Regions from separate parts of the Homo sapiens genome. Here regions 2, 3 and 4 are each linked to region 1. The links are contacts of gene promoters, found by promoter capture Hi-C in human tissues and cell types (Jung and others, 2019). All regions are on one chromosome and are shown on one strand. Each heading gives the region's core, a stretch centred on a gene start or on the middle of the fragment in contact. The rest is flanking DNA. Distances are from core to core; before and after follow the strand shown. Region 1 holds the start of CCDC178 (coiled-coil domain containing 178). Region 2 has its middle 62 kb from the start of ASXL3. Region 3 overlaps CCDC178 (coiled-coil domain containing 178). Region 4 overlaps CCDC178 (coiled-coil domain containing 178).

Region 1 (3,408 bases), core at 234-2,733:
CATTTTAGAATTCTGCCTGCCACAACAGGGGTTTAGCAATTATCAGTGAGTTCTAATTAAGAGAAACTTGTCAATAATGAGATTTCTAGTAGGTAAAGTTTTATTTTATGAGAAAAAAATCTAGCTATTGTTTTAATATGCACATTTACATATTGTGAACCCTCATGAATACATATTTACTGGCATGCAAATGATTCATTTGGTTTATAATTTAACATTGTATTGAGAACAAGCCAAAGTTTAATAATTAATGGAGGGAGATGGGAAAGTGGAGTGCATTCTTGAATCCATTTTTTAATTACAAAAAGAGCTCTGCTTCTGCATATATTAATTTAAGATTAAGACCTTCCACCAGTTTGTTAGTTATTGCTTCCTTTTTTTCATCTTTGGCTGAAAGGACCACATTCCAGGTACGGACTTGCTGGTTTTCCCCTCTTAGAAAGGATTACTAATTAAATTGCCTCTTAAAGTAATAGACTTTGCTGATTTAACCTTGGCAGGCAATTGCCTGTTCTCAGTGTTGCCTGGAAAAATGATTTCTCTGGATGAGAATGCTAATCTTTATTCTGATTCTGTTTTTTTTTTTTAACCATCTTCAGTTTATAGTCCAGTGTTTGTTTTCATTGAAGAAGACGGTGACAATAGTGTAAGACACGACTGTCCTCTGAAGCCTATTTCAGTTCACAGTGTATATTCACAGATGAAGAAACAAAATGTAGGTAATACATTTTGTGCCACTGATTTATGTATTTATTGATCTGTCGCCCAGGCTGGAGTGCAGTGGCACGATCCCAGTTCACTGCAGCCTCTAACCACTGGGCTCAAGCAATCCTCCTGCCTCGGCCTCCCAAAGTCCTGGGACAGGACACGCCTGGCACAGGGTTGTGCCACCACACCCGGCCTGCCACTTAGTATTTTGTCAGAAGGATCAATGCTTCAAAAATTTGTTTTTGAAAGAAACAGACCCTTAGAGAAATGGCTTGAATTAGTCTTGAATTAGTCATTTTCCCCACTTTCAGACACTAGGAAAAGTTCTTTCTTCCTTAACAGTTTGTTGAGGTTTCTCAATACTGAAGTCACAACCAAACCACATGGGGTTATCGCATGGAGTCCTGGTTGTATCATCCCAAGTGGCAAGAAAGAAAGAGGTCCTGCGGTCCTCCCGAAGGTGGACGAAGTCTGTGATCCCCTCACGTTCTAACCTCACTGCTGTACGAAGGGGCGTTGACTCGTCTCCACTCCTTCCCTCTCCGGTAAAGAGGGAAAGGAGTTGGGTTGGCAAATCGGTTACAAGAGAAAGGGAAAGGCACTGGGAGAAGGCGGAGCGGGGGCGGCCTGGAGCGCTGATCGGGCGCCGAAACGCCGGGAGTCGGGGGCTAAGGGCTCGAGCCAGGAGGCCCCGGAGCAGCAGCCGCCCGCTCCTCACGCCGCCGCCGCCGCCCCCGCGGTTGCCTGGACACGGGATAACCGACTTGGGGCCTCGACCGCAGCAGAGCCGGAGGGGTGGGCAGGCGCGGGTCCGGGAGACGCGCGGGGAAACGCGCGGAGCCGGTGAGTCGGGGGCGCTTGTGCCTCGGCGCGGGCGCTTGTGCCTCGGCGCGGGGCGCTGCCGGGCGGCGCCCACTCCCCCTGGCCGCCCGCCTGCGCGACTCCCGCGGGAGAACCAAATGCAATTCCCTGGCCACCCTGAGGGAGTTAGAGTCGACTAGTTCTTCACCCCTTCCAGAGGCGGTGGGGAGTCCTTGCCCCGCGCGTTTGAAAACAATTCCCCAAATCCCCAGTCCCATAATTCCCCAGTCCCCCAGTCGTTTTGTCCCCCTGTTCTCCGTCCTCCAGTTTCCCAGTCCTCCAACCCCTGTCCCCAGTCCCCCAGTCCCCCAGTCCCCCAGTCCCCCAGTCCCCCAGTCCCCCAGTCCCCACTGCCGGGGGAAGGGAAGCAGAGTCTCCCTCCGCTGGCCGCCTAGAGGAACTTCGTCTTGTCTGTAACTGCGTCTCTAGCGTCTTATTCCTTTAAAATAATTATTTCAACTTTTATTTTGCTTATAAGGCCGCCTTGTGGTGGCTCATGTATTATTCCTTTGAACTGTTATTGATTTCTTTTCTTGATATTTAATTTTTTAAGTGTCTGCTCAATCAAGTCAAATACTGAACAACTTCCTGGCGGAGAGGCTGAGAATTTTATACTTGCTTGCTCGAAAGCACCCCAAATAAGATGATCCACGCCAACACCTCCCCTTTACAGGTGAGAAAAGTGATATTCAGAGCTGATTTGTGATTTGACAAAAGTCAGATCCAGCAATCTTCAAACTCAGGAATATAAGAATCTCCCGATTGCCAATTCAAAGCATTTTCTATTATTGTTTTCTTGACATTCATCCACTGCTCAATAAATATTTGTGAATTGACTTGGTAGCTTATCACTCCTATTTATCATTGGATAATCTGTTGTGTATTGATTGCTCTGGGCATCTTGACCCAAATACAGCATTCTTGACATCTCCCTCCTACCCTCAAAATATTGTTTCTTGGTCCTGCTGTAGTAATAGGTTTTAGAACACCACTTACCAAGTTTAAGAACTCAGAGACATGACTAGTTGTAAGACAAATCCAAGAATCCAGAGGATTTTCAGCTATTTATGTTCAATTGTTATTTAGACATTCGTACAGAAACTAGTGTATTTCTATCTTGAATATATAATACTTCTTACTTTACTGTTGCAGTCATAAAGTTTTATTATAAACTATATCTGTCTAATTTCCAGAACTATCGAAAATATGAGTTTGATTGTTAGTCTACCCACTATCCCTGGATGGGTTGGGATTGCTGCCAGAGCTTTTATCCACAACCCAGACTTCTCTCTCCTGCTCCCACCTCAGATTCAACACAACCTTAGACTCAACTAATTTGTTACCACATCCTCAGAATTTTTCTTCCTGTTCTATATTCCATAGCAGTGAACGGGATAATTGCATATATTCTTCTTTCTTTTATCTTTATAATATGGACTTCATTCTCACACTGGCTTATTCCACCAGTCTAGAACCATGATTTCCAAGAGCACTGGACTCATAAATTCCCAAACTTGCACCTATAAAGAAAATCTAGAAACACTCGATGAATTCTTCTTGACCTCAGTTGGTTCAATTTGCCTGTCCCAAGAGCATTTATGTTGGGGATAGGGTTACTACGATTGACAGCAATGTCAGACTATGTGGATGGAGTGGGAAAACAATTACACACAAAACAGGAGCCCTCTAGGAAAGACAATTTCTGGGGGAAAATCCATATTTGTCTACTCAGTTTATCTAGGCTTATGGGACTGAAGATTAATGAGGTTAATGAGAATATTGGCTGCTAAAATGCTAGATGGCAGATTACAGACAACATGGAAAGGAAGATGATGTATG
Region 2 (3,820 bases), core at 1,067-3,566, 75 kb before region 1:
ATTATTATTATTTTTTGAGACAGATTCTCACTCTGTAGCCCAGGCTGGAGTGCAATGGCATGATCTCAGATCACGGCAACCTCTGCCTTTTGGGTTCAAGTGATTCTCCTGCTTCAGCATCCCAAGCAGCTGGTATTACAGGCATCCACCACCATGACAAGCTAATTTTTTTTTTTGTATTTTAATAGAGACAGGGTTTTACCATGTTGGCCAGGCTGGTTTTGAACTCCTGACCTCAAGTGATCTGCCCGCCTTGGCCTCCCAAAGTGCTAGGATTACAGACATGAGCCACCATGCCTGACCTCTAGCATTCTTTTGATTAGTGTTACCATGGTATATCTTTCTCCATCACTTTACCTTTAACCTAGATGCCTCTTTATGCTGAGACCAGTTCAGTCATGGAGACCCTAACCCAGCGGCACTAGAGAAATTAAAGACACACACACAGAAATATGCAGTGCAAAGTGGGAATCAGGGGGCTGACAGCCTTCAGAGCTGAGAGCCATGAACAGAGTTTTACCCACATATTTATTGACAGCAAGCCAGTGATAAGCATTGTTTTTATAGATTATAGATTAACTAAAACGGGAAACAAAGGGATGGGCTCAGGCTAGTTATCTGCCGCAGGAACATGTCCTTAAGGCACAGCTCATGCTGTTGTTTGTGGTTCAGGAACACCTTAAGTGGTTTTTCCGCCCTAGGTGGGCCAGGTGTTCCTTGCCCTCATTCTGGTAAACCAGCAACCTTCAGCCTGGGCATCATAGCCATCACAAGCCTGTCACAGTGCTGTAGAGATTTTGTTTATGGCCAGTTTTGGGGCCTGTCTATGGCCAGATTTGGGGGCCTGTTCCCAACATCTTTATATTAAGGCAGATTTTTGTAGACAACATATAGTTGGCCCTTGTCTTTCCTTCACTATTATGACAGTCTCTGTCTTTTAATTAGAATATTTAGGACACTCACATTTAAAGTTATCATTGGTATAGTTGGATTAATATATACCATGTTTGCAAGTATTTTATGTTAATTGCAGTTGTTCTTTGCTTATCTTCTCATTTTCTTCATTCTCTGGTTTTAATTGAATATTTTATATGATTCTATTTATTATCTTTCTTAGCATATCAATGAGCTGTGTTTAATGTTCGCTGTAGCTATGGGTGCCAGAGGGTTCAATTTCTCTAGTATCCTTATTTTTCTCCTTTCCTATTATCTTTGAATTTCCCTAAGAATCCCTTTTAAAACAGATTCTGTGTCTTGCAGCTCTTTTAGTTGCAATTCAATGTTCTTATACTTTTGCCTTATTGATGTTGTGGTAAGGTGAGGGGGAGAGGAAGCCTTTGATAATCTTTTGATTAAAATCAGTGTTTTAGTGGGCCTGCATCCCTGAGCTGTGACCTTTTAAATGCTTCTCAACGGCCTGGTGTGGTGGCTCACACCAGTAATCCCAGCACTTTGGGAGGCCGAGGAGGGCGGATCACAAGGTCAAGAGATGGAGACCATCCTGGCCAACATGGTGAAACCCCGTTTCTACTAATAATACAAAAATTAGCTGGGTGTGGTGGTGTGTACCTGTAGTTCCAGCTACTCAGGAGGCTGAGGCAGGAGAATCCCTTGAATCTGGGAAGGATAGGTTGCAGTGAGCTGAGATCACACCACTGCACTTCAGCCTGGTGACAGAGCAAGACTCAGGCTCAAAAAAAGAAAAAAAAGAAAAAAGAAAAAAAAACTTCTCAGCTTTGTTTATTCCTTCTCTGGGTGAGACAGGAAGGATAGATGGTGCTAGAGTTGGCTAATTGTCTTTTCCACAGGTCAGATAAGCTCTGATAAAGTCTTTTCCCTTGGAGAGTAGGTCTTTTCTTTATCAAGAATGCTCTGGATACTCACCATTGCCCCTGCCAGAATCAGGAGGGCATTTTTATTAGATCTTTTCTTTGAGAACCTGGCAGAGTTCCTAGAGTTAAAATCCATGAAATGATGGGGCCCCCAGGCATTTTCACTCTCAAGCTTGTCTACCTATCCTCAGCTTCCAGCAGTTGATGAAAATGGCCATTACATGTTTCTAGCAGATTATGGCTCCAACAGCTCTAGGTAAGCAGATCTCAGGTGCGCCTCTGTATTCACATCTCTTTCCTAATTTTAAGGTGGTGGTTTGCCCTGTGATTTCAATTATCTGATAAAGAAAGTCATTGATTTTTAGTATGTTCAGATTTTGTGTTGTTCTAAGCATTGATAACTTACAAGGTTTTTATATAGCACAGCTCTAGAATTTTAATTGCTTTATATTTTTAGTGCAAGTTTGTAGGCAACACATTCTGGCAGTTTCTGTCTGAAAAACCTGTTTATTTTACCTCCATCAAGGTACAGTGAAAAATGCTTGTACTGGTTAAAGAATTCTAGGTTAGCAGCTTTTCCTTTCATTTCTTTGATTGTGTCATTCCATTGTGTTCCATCTTTAGTCTCATTATTCCTCCATTGCAGGTAATGTAGTCTTTTCTCCTCTCTTGTTGCTTTTAGGATTTTTTTCTTTCTTATTGCTATTCATCAGTTTTACCACAACAAGCCTAGGGTAACCTTTGTTTATCCTTCTAGGGATTCCTAGATATTTTTAAAGATGTTCGGACATGTCAAATATTGCCTATGGTCCATTCTCTCTCTCTCTCTCTCATTCTCTCTCTCTCTTTTTCACTGACTCTTATTACACATTTTACAGGTCTTTTTTTGTACATTATTTTGGGTTTCCAGTAATCTGTACCTTAGTTTACTCATGCTGTCTCCTGCCATTTCTAATTTGCTGGTAATTTCCTGCCATTTCTAATTTGCTTAGTAACTTTCTAGTTTTAGACATTGTATTTTAAGTTCTAGAATCTCAGTTGTGTATTTTTTCTTGTATATTTTAATTCTCTGATGAAACTCAATATTGTCAATAAATTGTTCTCTATTTTTCTGAACATATCAATTATAATAATTTTAAAGTCTTTGTGTGCTAATTCAAATATGTGTATTATATTTGATTATTTTATTAAAATCTACTTATTTCCTGTTGGCTTTGGTCATGTCATCTCTTGGCATACCTAATAATATTTTATTGAATATTTCTGATGATATTATTATGCTTTGAGATTATTTCCCCCTTTTCATGCTAAGTAAATATCCTTTTGCATATGGATATCCAGTTTTCCCAGCACCATTTATCAAATAGATTGTCCTTTCCCCAATGTATATTCTTGGAACCTTTGCCAAAAATGAGTTCATTGTAGATATATGGATTTATTCCTGGGTTCTCTGTTCTGTTCCACTGATCTGTGTGTCTGTTTTTATGCCAGTATCATACCGTTTTGGTTACTATAGCTCTGTAGTATTAATTTAAAGTCAAGTAATGTGATTCCTCCTTTTTTTTGTTTTGCTTACATTAGATTGGGTTTTTCTGGGTCTTGTGTGGTTCCATATCGTTTTAGGATTTTTTTCTATTTCTGTGAAGAAATCTGCTGTAATCATTGGGTTTGGTTTGCTTTTGCTGTTCTAGTTCTTTAAGATGCATTGTTAGGTGGTTTATTCGAAGTTTTTCTTATTTTTTGATGTAAGCATTTATAGCAATAAATTTATAGCTATAGTACTATAGCTCTTAGTACTGATTTTGCTGTTTCCCTTATGTTTTGGTATGTTGTGTTTCCCTTATGATTTGTTTCAAAATATTTCTAAATTTTTCCATAATTTCTTTATTCTAATTTTTTTTTTTTTGAGACAGAGTCTTGCTCTGTTGCCCAGGCTGGAATGCAGTGGTGTGACCTCAGCTCACTGCAACCTCCACCTCCCAGGTTCA
Region 3 (3,531 bases), core at 489-2,988, 120 kb after region 1:
TTCTGAAGACTTTCTTCTGGCTTATTATCTATTTAAATCATTTCCTTTTGTCCTGAGTTTAACATGAAGACCATATGACTGCACCTTGGCAACCACCAACTACGAGAAATGCAATTGACCAAAGGACTCTGTTGTTAGCAGCATCTGACATGGCTTCCAATGATCTCAGCTTCTCCTCCCTGATATTCATTTTACTGACAAAGCCACTCACCCAGAAGATGGGATCTTTCCTTGTTTGGAGTCACAATACCAATACACAAAACCAAAAGTGAGTGTTAAGCAGTGCAGACCATGGAATTGAGAAGTAGTAACATGGCTCACAACTCAACTTCTCCACTAGTGAAGGGTGAGGGTGTTAAAATATAGGATTTATTTAATGAGGAGGTTGGACATTAAAAGCAAGGGGAGGGAATATTCTTATCTTTTCCGGAAATAGGTAGTCAACTTCCCAGAACCAGAGTGCTGCTTCATTTTTGTCCTCCTATGCCTTCTTCCGGTTGTTTCATGAGGATTGGCAATGGTCACGGTGCTGCTGGGTGCTCATTCCATTTAGCATGGAAATGAGATTATAATGAGGCCTGAGGTCCTTTTGAAGTCCTTTGGTTGGCTATCTTGGCTTAAACCTGTCTCAGCTGGTCTGGTTACAAAGGAAACTTTTTTTTTAATCACAGGTGTTCTGTTTCTTAAAGATAAGCAGAGTTAAGGCAGGGTAGAAATTCAGCTATGTCATGTAGGCATTGCACTGGATAACAAATCTCCCCTTTTCTGTATATTCACTCCTCATTCTTGAATGGTGCTGAGGAGTAAAAGTCTGTCTTCTACAACTTTCTGAATCTGAAGTTGGGTGTTAATATTGTTACAGGAAAGGGGTCCCAGTCCAGACCCCAAGAGAGTGTTCTTGGATCTCGTGCAAGAAAGAATTCAAGGTGAGTCCACAGTGCAAGGCAAAAGCAAGTTTATTAAGAGAGGTAAAGTGGTGAAAATGTGTCCAGAATTGGTGGGTTCTTGGTCTCACTGACTTCAAGAATGAAGCCGCGGACACTTGCGGTGAGTGTTACAGTTCTTAAAGGCGGCGTGTCCAGAGTTTGTTCCTTCTGATGTTCGGATGTGTTCGGAGTTTCTTCCTTCTGGTGGGTTCGTGGTCTTGCTGGCTCAGGAGTGAAGCCACAGGCCTTCACGGTGAATGTCACAGCTCTTAAGGCCACACGTCTGGAGTTGTTCATTCCTCCTGGTGGGTTCGTGGTCTCGTTGGCTTCAGGAGTGAAGCTGCAGACCTTCGCAGGGAGTGTTACAGCTCATAAAGGCAGTGTGGACCCAAAGAGTGAGCAGTAGCAAGATTTGTTGCAAAGAGCGAAAGAACAAAGCTTCCACAGTGTGGAAGGGGACCCAAGCAGGTTGCCACTGCTGGCTTGGGCAGCCTGATTTTATTCTCTTATCTGGCCCCATCCACATCCTGCTGATTAGTCCATTTTACAGAGAGCCAATTGTTCTGTTTTACAGAGAGCTGATTGGTCCGTTTTGACAGGGTGCTGATTGGTGCGTTTACAATCCCTGAGCTAGACACAAAAGTTCTCCATGTCCCCACTAGATTAGCTAGATACAGAGTGTCGATTGGTATATTTACAAACCCTGAGCTAGACACAGAGTGCTGATTGGTACATTTACAAACCTTGAGCTAGACATAAAGATTCTCCAAGTCACCACCGGATTAGCTAGATACAGAGTGCCGATTGGTGCATCCACAAACCCTGAGCTAGACACAGGGTGCTGATTGGTGTGTTTACAAGCCTTGAGCTAGATACAGGGTGCTGATTGGTGTATTTACAATCCCTTAGCTAGACATAAAGGTTCTCTAAGTCCCCACTAGACTCAGGAGCCCAGCTGGCTTCACCCAGTGGATCTCCCACTGGGGCGGCAGGTGGAGCTGCCAGGAGTGCCCTGCACCTGCTCTCCGGGCGCCATCCAGCAGGGGGCGGCGCTCGTCAGGGAGGCTAGGGCAGTGCAGGAGCCCACGGCGTGTGGGGGGAGGGGTGCGGGGGGCTCAGGCATGGCAGGCTGCAGGTCCGGAGCGCTGCCTCACGGGGAGGCAGCTAAGGCCCGGGGAGAAATCGAGCGCAGCAGCTGCCCGCCCAGGTGCTAAGCCCCTTACTGCCCTGGGCTTGCAGCCGGCCGCTTCGAGTGTGGGGCCCTCCCAGCTCACACCCACGGAACTCGCGCTATCCCGCAAGCACCGCGCGCAGCCCCGGTTCCCGCCGGCGCCTCTCCCTCCACACCTCCCCACAAGCTGAGGGAGCTGGCTCCGGCCTTGGCCAGCCCAAAAAGGGGCTCCCACAGTGCAGCGGCGGGCTGAAGGGCTCCTCAAGCTCCGCCAGAGTGGGCGCCAAGGCTGAGGAGGCGCTGAGAGCAAGCGAGGGCTGCCAGGACTGCCAGCACGCTGTCACCTCTCAAAAGGACAGATACTCCATAGACAGACTAGGACGTTTCTGAAAGTAAGAGGAGGAACGTGTCCACTCTAGGTACAATGCTTGTATATATGGGAGATGTGCTCTGCTACAAGGGTTTGTGATGAAGGATTAATTTTCTTAATTACTATATTTTGCAAGAATCGGTATTATTATCTTTAACACAAAATTAGGAATGCCTTTGTTTGCCAGATATGGGGATATATGGACACTCCCAAATCTGGGTCTGTTTAGTAAACATTATTAGTTTGTTCCCTTAACATAAACATCTAGAGGCCAGGAATGCCTAAATTTCTGAGAATGCAGCCTTTCAAGGACCAGCCTCATTTTCCTAGCCCCCAGTCAAAATGGAGTCACTCTGGTTCGAACACTTTTGACAATATGGGGCCTGTTAGAGGAGTGAATTTTTTCCCTAGCTAGTCTTAGGTAGATCTGGTTCTCTCCTGGGTATAAGCCTACCTTTTTATATCCGTGTATGGCCTCGATTTGCTTATACATAAAAGAGATCAGAGAGTTTAGGAGACAGAGCCTGAAGATCAAGATAAGTAGGATGGTAGCTAAAGGGCTCAGGAAGGGTAGAAACCGGGTGAAATCAGGGCTGGCCTGTTTTATCATTTTCATATTCCTTGAGGGTCTGTGCCCTTTTGGTTAAATTGGTGCAACCACTTGGTCTGGTTGTAGATGATTTTAATGTCTTTTCGTTGTTTTTAATCTTGAATTACTTACCCAAGCACAACAGAAAGAGCTGGTGACCACACGTACCTCACCTTTTTTTGCCAAGAGATAATCAAAAGTCAGACGATTATCAAGCACAGTGTTAGTTAGTGAGTCTAGGGAGACTTTGAGGAGGGTAAGGGCATCACTAGTCTTATAGGCTAGAATTTCTATACCTGTTGTGAGGTTGCAGAGGGTAAACTCATGGTAGGCAAACCTTCCCTAGGGGCTATGAGACCACCTGCTATCCCAGTACCAGCCAGAATAAGCCTAATTGCCTTTTATTCCTCAGGTGAGAGGGGGACAGGAAACCATTAAACATTTTGACTTCTCTGGGGATTCGGTGCCCTAGGGC
Region 4 (3,311 bases), core at 440-2,939, 72 kb after region 1:
AAAATGAGGTTATTATGAGGATGAAGGAGACCTGCTTTTATTTTTTTCAGCAAGAGAAACTCATGCTGGATTTAAGGAAGAACTTCAATGCATGAGTAGTTGGATATTATTTACATTGAAAGAGAGCATCTCTTTGAAGGGAATATTTAAAATATATTTCAAAGTTATTTTTAAGAGATTCAGAATCTGTTTAGTAACACATGGGTCAACTGTTTTTTCTGCCTTTTTTTCCTTCATTTTTTCCTATGTTTAGTTCACAATGCTATGTTTTTCAACTTTGCTTGAAGTTTTATTTTGGCTTCTCGGGTTCATTTTTATTTGTTACAGAATTAAATCATAAATGATTATTTTATTTTAGCTTGTACGTTTTTTAAAGATTTGTTCTATAATTTTCTGACAGATTTCTCAGCCTCTCTATTAAGGAAACTAAGAGTATTAGCACTAATAAAGCAGAATTTTTTTGCTTATTCTGAACATCAAAATTTACTACTTTGTATAGAATGAGTAATGAACTTCTATTTGTTCTCTTTAGGGGTGAATAAAGGCATTTACTTTAGCTACCCATGTCGACGTCACAGCTGTGCCGTAGTAAATATTCCAGCACCTTGTGTCAACAAAATGATTTCACACATCCAAGATGTGGAGTCCAAAATACAGGAGCATTTGAAAAGGGTAAGAGACTAATTTAAAATGCTGATATTTTGGTAAGCTTTATCGACCCTCTAAGGATTGGTTATTTAAAGAACCCAGGAAACTCTGGACTTTTTAAATGATAATTGGAATGCTTTTTAAGAATCTTTGCTCAGTTGCATCATTTACTAGTCTAGACATGTTTTTGATAGTCTCACTCCAGAAGGGTGAAACGACCTTATTAAATCGATGTTTTTTTCCCTACCTGTTTGTTCTTTATCCAGAGGCAATCATGCTAAGTAGTAATTTCCATAAGCCAACTTCACTAGTAAATTAAGTAGTATTTACATACTTTTTGGGACACTAAACTGATTAGATGATTAAATTGGTGTATAAAAGGACAGTGTGCCCTTTTTAATGAGTTGTTTTATTCTAAAGAAATGCTTAATAGTTCTATTGAAAAGGAATATAATGATTCTATGTCTTTTTAACCTGTTAAAAGTTTGCCTTTATTATTCTGAAGGGAGTTCAATCTTGAAAGGCAATTATTTTCAAAGGATGATTTAAGAATGACAAAAAATACCACTTCTCATACCTTTTATTAAGATTATATTTCTGAACAACTAATGCAGAATTAGACTGCTCAAATGGGAGATCAATTTTCCAGAGACCTGTGCTATTTTTTTTTTCTCTCCACTGTTACTGGATCTGGCTCAGCAAACATTCTGATGGGCCACTTACAATTCTCAGTCTAGGATGTCACCTCTTTTGTTAGAGATCATTAGAGTACAGTCTTCAAGATTGCAGGCTTTAGAGTGACCTTAGATGGGAATGAAGAGATAGTGATACTATATTAGAACAAGTACCAGCAAATGATATGCACTCAATATATATTTGTCACTGTTACTTCTATATTATTTATATCATTCTATATCAGCATTGTGTTACCTTTGTTGTTTCTATATTTCTCCAAATCAGATTACCCCTTCAGGAAATGCTTTATAGGTCACAGGACTGATGGTGTCCTGGGCTTTGAAGACTATGGCAAGGAAATAAAGAGCAGAAATTAATATTTGTTGCTATGATATGCTATATACTTCCTATGAGTTTTAATTAACAATTACCCATGTTGTTAAAAATGATAAAAATCATAGGTATTTTAATAAATAATTATAACAACTACCACTTATTAAAATGGTATAATGGTATTTTAATAAATAATTAAAACAGGTATTTTAATAAATAATTATAACAGCTACCATTGATTAAAAAACTAATATAAGTCAGACATTATGTTTTACTACATCATTGCTCTTAGACCTTACAAAACTATTGAATGGTTATTGTTATACCTAATTGATAGATAGGGAAATAGTAGTTTAAAACAATTCAGCAACTTGTTCAAGCTCACAAGGCAGAATTGGGATTCACACACCCTCTGTCTGTTTTCAAAGCCCATATTCTTTCCTGAATCCGACTTGGTGCTCTGAACAGTTGATAAACTGTTAGATACTATGGATAATAGGGCAGGTAAAATATTACCTTAGATAAAATAGTTTACAAAATGAGCCAAGATATTTTATATCTTATCTTTAAAAAAACTGAAAAAAAGAGCTATTCTCATGTAAATATATTGAAAAACCTCAAAAAAGGAGAAGCACCAGAGCTGACTTCTTTACTCTTGTCTTCTGGGGCCTAGATTAGTGCCAGATAAATAGTAGGCACTCAATAACTGTCTGTTGAATAAAAAAGTAAATGAAGATCTAAAACAGAACCTTTCTATTCTGCATACATCTGAGGCACCTATCCACTCCATATGGTAATGGTGATTTATGTACCTAACCTCTCCTATTTTCTAGACATTTAATAAATATTTATTGTTTTGCCCTTTATAGAAATTCTACTGTACAGATGAGAATTCTAGGGCATAGAGAAGTCAAATACCTTATATGTACACATCACACAGGTAGTGAGCACTACAGTTGGAATTTGTACTTAGTTCCATCTGACTCCAAAGTCCATTCAACCTCTGTTTTATATCCTTGGAGAGAACTTAATTCTCATTTAGGAGAATATTAGTTGATACTTTGAGAAGAAACACACAATAACAATGATAGAAAAGTACACTTCTAGACAAAAATTTCAATAATGATAATTCTTTGTTTATGAATAAATAAATACGAGTTTTATCTGAAAGGAGATTCATTATGAAATAAATGCTAATGACAAACTTTCTGTTAATTTTCAAGGTTATTTTGTAGATTTTCTATTTTCTATATTTAAAAATTATCTTATTTTGTTTTATTATTGACTGTGCAGTTAGATTTGCTAGTGTTGAACTGGTAAATAGAACATAAGTACTATGTTTGGTGCAATGATGAGGACTCTCCATTAGATATTTAGTTCAAATCTATGCAGTATTTGAACTAATATTTTAAGAATGAACTGGTGGTCAGCTATCCTTTTGAAAGATGAAAAAATTTTTTCTGACTAACCTATCACAATAAGAAAAAAATCTTCCCATTATCACATGGAAAAAGTGATAATATTACCAAAAAATGTTGGTAATATTAGACAACCTTACATTGACATAGGAACTTAAATTTCCTCAAAAATAAAATTAAGCAGGCACAACTGGAAAGAACTCTTTGAAAGATAGCTTCTGATATTTTGAAATCAAA

What was found. The method cuts DNA at HindIII sites, captures the fragments that hold promoters and counts their contacts. A contact is called where the count stands out against the background at its distance.
Region 2: a contact is called between a fragment that was not itself captured here and the fragment with the promoter of CCDC178 in region 1, in 2 of the 25 tissues and cell types used here (aorta and lymphoblastoid cells).
Region 3: a contact is called between a fragment that was not itself captured here and the fragment with the promoter of CCDC178 in region 1, in 2 of the 25 tissues and cell types used here (H1 embryonic stem cells and adrenal gland).
Region 4: a contact is called between a fragment that was not itself captured here and the fragment with the promoter of CCDC178 in region 1, in 3 of the 25 tissues and cell types used here (H1 embryonic stem cells, lymphoblastoid cells and thymus).

What each region holds. Positions count from the first base shown.
Region 1 is chr18:33,438,796-33,442,203 of GRCh38, reverse strand. It overlaps CCDC178 (coiled-coil domain containing 178), which reads left to right and starts at 1,483. Exons shown (of 23, transcript NM_001105528.4): 1 at 1,483-1,551; 2 at 2,123-2,242. The HindIII fragment of the contact is 6,939 bases long and covers 1-3,408 here.
Region 2 is chr18:33,514,027-33,517,846 of GRCh38, reverse strand. No RefSeq gene overlaps it. Among named protein-coding and RNA genes, the nearest start is that of ASXL3, 62 kb to the left of the region's middle. The HindIII fragment of the contact is 9,416 bases long and covers 1-3,820 here.
Region 3 is chr18:33,314,962-33,318,492 of GRCh38, reverse strand. All of the region lies in intron 11 of CCDC178 (coiled-coil domain containing 178), which reads left to right. Among named protein-coding and RNA genes, the nearest start is that of CCDC178, 120 kb to the left of the region's middle. The HindIII fragment of the contact is 7,209 bases long and covers 1-3,531 here.
Region 4 is chr18:33,367,411-33,370,721 of GRCh38, reverse strand. It overlaps CCDC178 (coiled-coil domain containing 178), which reads left to right. Exons shown (of 23, transcript NM_001105528.4): 6 at 533-672. Among named protein-coding and RNA genes, the nearest start is that of CCDC178, 72 kb to the left of the region's middle. The HindIII fragment of the contact is 7,900 bases long and covers 1-3,311 here.